Linked DNA regions of Homo sapiens: region 2 is linked to region 1. Evidence: promoter capture Hi-C in human tissues and cell types (Jung and others, 2019). All regions are on one chromosome and are shown on one strand. Each heading gives the region's core, a stretch centred on a gene start or on the middle of the fragment in contact. The rest is flanking DNA. Distances are from core to core; before and after follow the strand shown.

The links. Contacts are between HindIII fragments. The study calls those that stand out against the background at their distance.
Region 2: a fragment that was not itself captured here is called in contact with the fragment with the promoter of PYCR2 in region 1 in 6 of the 25 tissues and cell types used here (H1 embryonic stem cells, aorta, heart left ventricle and 3 more).

Annotation. Positions count from the first base shown.
Region 1 is chr1:225,922,447-225,925,641 of GRCh38, forward strand. It overlaps PYCR2 (pyrroline-5-carboxylate reductase 2), which reads right to left and starts at 1,804. Exons shown (of 7, transcript NM_013328.4): 1 at 1,598-1,804; 2 at 1,255-1,325. The coding sequence starts at 1,664. RefSeq lists silencers at 1,401-1,530, 1,841-1,930, 2,071-2,150 and an enhancer at 1,701-2,350. The HindIII fragment of the contact is 28,660 bases long and covers 1-3,195 here.
Region 2 is chr1:225,992,648-225,995,936 of GRCh38, forward strand. SDE2 (spliceosome associated SDE2) reads right to left here. Exons shown (of 7, transcript NM_152608.4): 2 at 2,619-2,736; 3 at 244-355. Among named protein-coding and RNA genes, the nearest start is that of SDE2, 5.1 kb to the right of the region's middle. The HindIII fragment of the contact is 4,719 bases long and covers 1-3,289 here.

The DNA of each region.
Region 1 (3,195 bases), core at 554-3,053:
GAGCAGCTGAACCCCTGCCAAACCGATTCTGCCAGATGCAGCCTGGAATTCTTAGCTTTATGCCCTCAGGGTTCTACCCCTACCCCAAATAATACAGTTTCCCATTGTTGCTACTGGACAAGTAAGCACAGGCTTGGAGCATGACAAGCTTCTCCATGGTAACCAGGAAGTGGCTGCCCTTCTTCCCTGCCAATCTTCTGGTATCTAAGGCACTCCTCTGCCAGGTAAGAAGGCCCTATGGTGAAAGTGGCAGGGCAAAGGGAAATGCTAATACCTGGTCGTTAAAAGCACAGCTGAGTCAGGCCCTATCCTAACCCTGGCCGCTTGTTCGTGGGGACCGCACAGTCTCCATGTGGTCCAGGGCTAGGCTGGAAGCCATCCATCCCTCTATGACTCCAAACTGAGAAGCAGGACCCTCCAGTGCTAGGGACATCAGCCCACCCTAGGCACAGACACTGCCTGTCACCTGCCTCATCAGCCATCCTCTCCCACAGAGCACAGGTTTTGGGTGAAGACTTGGAATATGTTTTTGGAGAACAGAACAACTAACTCACCAGATTCTTCCCAATATGCTCATTCACGACTCAGAATAACAGCAAAGTGGCCACTGTTGTAAATGAGGAAATAGCCTCAAAGTGGCTGAGTACTTTAAGGTCATACAACTCGTCTATTAAGAAAAATGGCTGAGCGCAGTGGCTCACCCCTGTAATCCCAGCACTTTGGGAGGCCAAGGCGGGCAGATCACTTGAGGCCAGGAGTTCGAGACCAGCCTGGCCAACAGTATTCTCTACCAAAAATACAAAAATTAGCTGCGCGTGGTGGATGCCTGTAATTCCAGCTACTCGGGAGGCTGAGGTGGGAGGCTGAGGTGGGAGGCGGAGGTTACAGTGAGCTGAGATCGCGCCACTGCACTCCAGCTTGGGCGACAGAGTAAGACCCTGTCTGAAAAAAAATTTAAAAAATGAGTATTTATTAGGTACCTACTATGTGCCAGGTGCTTTCATCACATAATCACCTCAGTTAATCCTCTACCACTCCAGTGTCTGGATCTGACCCCCAGTTATGTCTCCCTGGGTGTTCCCACCACATTGAGCTGCCCAAGAGAAGGTGGAAAGATTGTCACGTTCCTGGAGTAAAGGTCACCGCCGGCCAAAGACCAGCACTTGGGCGCAGGGGCCGGCCAGACTCACTTCATCTCAGGTCATCCTTTTCCTGGGCCTCCACCCGCTTCCCACTCCGCCCGGCTCCACCTACCCTGAGCGCGGACACCGTGGGCAGGTTCATTTCTGGGGAGCTGGCTATTATCTTGTGAGCCGACAGGATGCCTGCAGAAGACAGAGCTTTTCAACTAGGGGTCGCGGCCCAGCCCGTTACCACGCTTTCCCTGGCTCTAAAACCCAGAGCCGTCCTAACAGTGCCAGTCTCCCTCTCCCCCTCAACCCTCTACGAGGACAGAAGACGCACTTGCTGCTCAACCAGAGTCTCATCTACCCCACCGGACGCAAACTCCCCTTTCATTCGCTCATGCTGGTGGGACGGAGGCCCCCTCGGGCCTCGGGACCGCCCGCGAAGCCGCCTCCCGCCTCCACGCGCTTGCCTGCGGCCGTGAAGCCCCGCGCCAGAGCATAGGCCAGCTGGCCGGCCCCGATGAAGCCCACGCTCATGGTCCGCGGTTCACGCCTCCTGGGAGCCGCACGAACCCCCTCAGCGAGGGACCGGAAGTAACGCTAGGGGAAGGGCGGACAGCGCAGGGGCGAACGGGCGGCGTGCCGAGGACCGGCGAGCTAACAGCAGCTTCTGGGATGGTGCAACCCTATTCTCCCCCGGCGGATATCTCCCGGGCGGCTGATGGCGCCTTAGGCCACGTGGCCCCGCCCCGTCCGGGCGACCAATCAGTGGCCAGGATCTCGGGGCAGGCCAATCCGCGGCCCGAGCCAGGCCGCGTGCCCGCCTCCTCCGCTCGCGACTGGAGGGCGGAACTCCGGGCTGGAGTCCCGGAAGCCCCTGTGGCAGCTTGGCGTGAGCTCCAGGCGCCCGCCGGCCCAGGACGCCCGGCCGCCCCCACCCCCCCCCCCCACCCCAAGGCTGAGGTCGCCGTCCCTAAGCCACCTCGGGCTCAGGGCTGAGGCCTGGCCCAGGCCTGGCTAATATTATTTCTGGCGCTGGCCATCAGATGCCCCTCAAGGCCCACAGGAATTCTCCAGGTTGCCGATTTGCGGGGATGAACGAGGCCCTCCTGGCGTAGGTTCAGACCAGGTGGCGGCGAGGTTCAGACCAGGTGGCGGCGAGGCGGCACCAGGGTGGTCAGCCGCGGCTTATTCACTTGAACTTGAGTGTTTCTCGCGAATTTGTCCAAACTAGATACAAGAAGGACAAGTTCGAGTCTCCGACTCTTCCGCGATCCCGCACCCCCCAGCCCCTTGCTGTCACTTGCCTTTTTTTTTTTGAGACGGAGTTTCACTCTTGTTGCCCAGGATGGAGTGCAGTGGCACGATCTCGGCTCACTGCAATCTCCGCCTCCCGGGTTCAAGCGATTCTCCTGCCTCAGCCTCCCCAGTAGCTGGGATTACAGGCGCCCGCTACCACGACCGGATAATTTTTGTATTTTTAGTAGAGACGGGGTTTCACCATGTTGTTCAGGCTGGTCTTCAACTCCTGACATCAGGTTATCCGCCCGCCTCGGCCTCCCAAAGTGCTGGGATTATAAGCGTGAGCCACCGCGCCCGACCTGTCTCTTGCTTTTAAAAGCTCCACCAATGTGATGTTTCCTTTTCTATCAGTAGTAAATATAAGGGGCCGCAGGGAACAAATGACAGAAGTAGAGAGGAAGAAGGTGGCGTTCCTAGAGGACTCAGAAGAGCTGAGGACCCTTAGTTCCCATGGTCTCTCTGCTAGCTTTTCTAGTCCTTTCCGTGTAATGCACACCCCCACTCCCAGGCAAGGGGCTGCTTTCTGTGAACTTCCCTGAGCAAGTCCCCAGGCCCTCAGTTTGTGCACCCTTTAAAGTGAGGACCAAATATAATATTTACTATTAAGCAAAATAATGCTATGTTTTATTTATTTATTTATTTATTTATTTATTGAGACAGAGTTTCGCTCTTGTTGCCCAGGCTGGAGTGCAATGGCACGATCTCGGCTCACTGCAACCTCCACCTCCCGGGTTCAAGCGATTCTCCTGCTTCAGCCTCCTGAGTA
Region 2 (3,289 bases), core at 169-2,668, 70 kb after region 1:
TAATGCACTTGTTCATACTGTGATATTCTCTTAGAAAGGTGAGCCATGCTTACTACTAGCATATGGTACTGAACTTAATCCCAAAGATGATTATTAAATTATGGAAAAGGTTAAATCTGATAATAAATTTGGATGTAAATATTTTAAGTTTCCATTTCCAATATGCGTGGCATATGTATAATCACTACTAATAGGAAAGTATATGTCTCTCCTCAAAAACACAAAAAAAGGTGGGCATCTTACGCTTTTTCATGATTGACATCGCGTAGTCTCCTTCCACTGAGATCCCGACAAGCTTCTCGATTGGTTGTCTTCTCAATCTGAGCACCAAGTGCTCGGAGCATAGATCCAAAACCTGAGCAGATGTATTTGGAGAAAGCAGGTTAAAATGTGTTCAAGGATGGATAAAAGCAGAATTTGTGAAAACAATCTGTATCACAAGATTAACAATGATCTCTACTTTCTTTCTTTTTTTTTTTTTTTAAGAAAAGATGAACATCAAGGTTCTAATTCAGGCAGCGAAAGTAAAAAGACTGATTTAACCTCATGCCTTTCACCTTTCATTTTATAGTTCTGAGATAAAATACCTAGCCTTCCCAAACCTAATTATTTATCCTTGTGTTAGTTATTTGCATACCGGTATAATACCTGTACAGCTAGAATATTTAAAAAGCTTTACCCAGGCCAGGTGCAGTGGCTCACGCCTGTAATCCCAGCACTTTGGGAGGCTGAGGCGGGCAGATCATGAGGTCAGGAGATCAAGACCATCCTGGCTAACACAGTGAAACCCCGTCTCTACTAAAAAATACAAAAAATTAGCCAGGCGTGGTGGCGGGCGCCTGTAGTCCCAGCTACTCAGGAGGCTGAGGCAGGAGAATGGCGTGAACCCAGGAGGCAGAGCTTGCAGTGAGCTGAGCTCGTGCCACTGCACTCCAGCCTGGGAAACAGAGCCAGGCTCTGTCTCAAAAAAAAAAAAAAGAAGCTTTACACAATCACAGAGATCCCAAGATTCTCAGATTAAGAACTTAAAAAGTATATAGTGAGATTTTTCAATGAGTTTAGAAGGAAAGGCAATTTTAAGCTCCACTGGCTGATATAACATGCTTCATTCATTCATTCTTTTTATCCCCCCTAAGAGATGGGGCCTTGCTCTGTCATCCAGGCTAGAGGGCAATGGCTTGATGTAATCAAAGCTCACTGCAGCCTTGAACTCCTGGGCTCAATGGATCCTCTTACCACAGCCTCCCAAGTTGCTAGGATTACAGGCGTGTACCGATGCAGCTAGCTATTTTTTTTTTTTTGTAGAGACCAAGGTCTCACCATCTTGCCCAGGCTAGTCTCAAACTCCTGGGTTCAAACTGTCCTCCCACCTTGGACTCTCAAAGTGTTGGGATTACAGGCATGAGCCACCATGCCTGGCCACATGCTTCATTCTTTTTTTTTTTTTTTGAGAGAGTCTCACTGTGTCGCCCAGGCTGTAGTGCAGTGGCACAATCTCGGCTCACTGCAGCCTCCACCTCCAAGGTTCAAGTGATTCTCCTGCCTCAGCCTCCCAAGTAGCTGAGATTACAGGCTCCTAACACCACACCTGGCTAATTTTTATATCTCTAGTAGAGACGGGGTTTTGCCATGTTGGCTAGCCTGGTCTCGAACTCCTGACCTAGGTGATCCGCCCGCCTTGGCCTCCCAAAGTGCTGGGATTACAGGCGTGAGCCACCGTGCCCAGCCCACGCTTCATTCTTAATCATACAATTTCAAACAGCTGGATATAGTCTGAGATGTCAGCTCTCTGAAAACCAAACCAAATCACTGTAGATTTTGAGAAAGCTTAGGGATCACATGTTACTACATTAGGAGAAATACCAACAACTGTTTATATTGTTTTCGCTCTTTGTTATCTTTCCTAGTAGTTGTGTTAAACAAACAAAACCTTAATCTGCCTCAACTTATAAACAATTGTGTTTCCTAAGGTAACTTTAGACTTCCTTTGGAACTACAAAAACGAGACAAAATCCTGATTAAAGCAGAAGGAGATTTAGAAAAAAAACTCTTTATTCAGCAAATTGAACAGAATAATGGCCATCTCTCTTCATCTAATTTTCCCCCAAAGTTTTAGAGCCTAGGTTCCCTAAGAGCTATCCAGCTGAACAAAGTGGGAATTGTATCACACAATATTTCTTCCTCGACCAAAATAAAAGACAGCCTGGGCAACATGGCGAAACCCCATCTCTACAAAAAATACAAAAATTAGCTGCGCATGGTGGCATGTGCCTATAGTCCCAGCTACTGGGGAAACTGAGGTGGGAGTATTGCTTGAGTTCAGGAGGTCAAAGCTGCAGTGAGCCGTGATCGTACCACTGTACTCCAGCCTGGGCGACAAAACAAGGCAGTGTCTCAAAAGAAAGAAAACAAAAGAATAAGAGAGAAAATGTCCAAAATCAGGTTAAGTAAATAAAAGAATTCATAAGGTAAAACAATATTGGCATACTAAAGAGACTAAGAAGGTTGTTAATTTAATACCATGGCTAAAGACAGCAAATGTCAGCAGCAGAATATGAAAATAAATGAATAAAGACTGCAAATGTGTTACAACTAAGTAGTCAATGTTCAGGTCCTACCTCCTTTTCCACCGCAAAGTCTGGGTTCCAAACTATAAACAGCTCCATGCTGCACTGTGTCACTGGTGTTAATGAGTGCTCCATTGCATTTCACAAAGAAGTTTTCCACTGGAACATTCTAGAGACAAATTTGTTTTTTTAATGCCTTTTATGAGATAATAATCTAAGTTTGTTACAAGAAGGGACCTAGCTGTCTTTTTATTACTCTGGTTACAACAGAGGGTGTTCAATTAATATTTGTTGAATTGAAAATGTAAACTACTAGGAGAAAAAGTCATTTCACATGATGCATTTTGGGTATAATTTTTTCCCAATATTACCTAATCATCACATATAGAAGAAACTTCAGTCTTTGCGGTGACAACAAAAACTGCTTCTTCTTCTCTGATAGGTAATCTGAGTCAAGGTAGAAGACTATGCAGGACTCAGATTAAATAACTGTGGAGGTCCCATTTTCTGACTTTCTTAAACAGGTAAAATTAAATTGAACATCAAAAGTAGTCCTCAATCCTAAAAAGTGCAGGTAGGAATAAGAAGTAGAGAAGGAAGGAGTCAAGAGTGTGGTTTTTAATACACCTATATAAGTACACCATAGGAGACATAAATACATGAAAAATGAGCAAAAATGAGCAAAGTTGCTGAAGATAGCCTAAGATGCTGGGCAGCCCCAG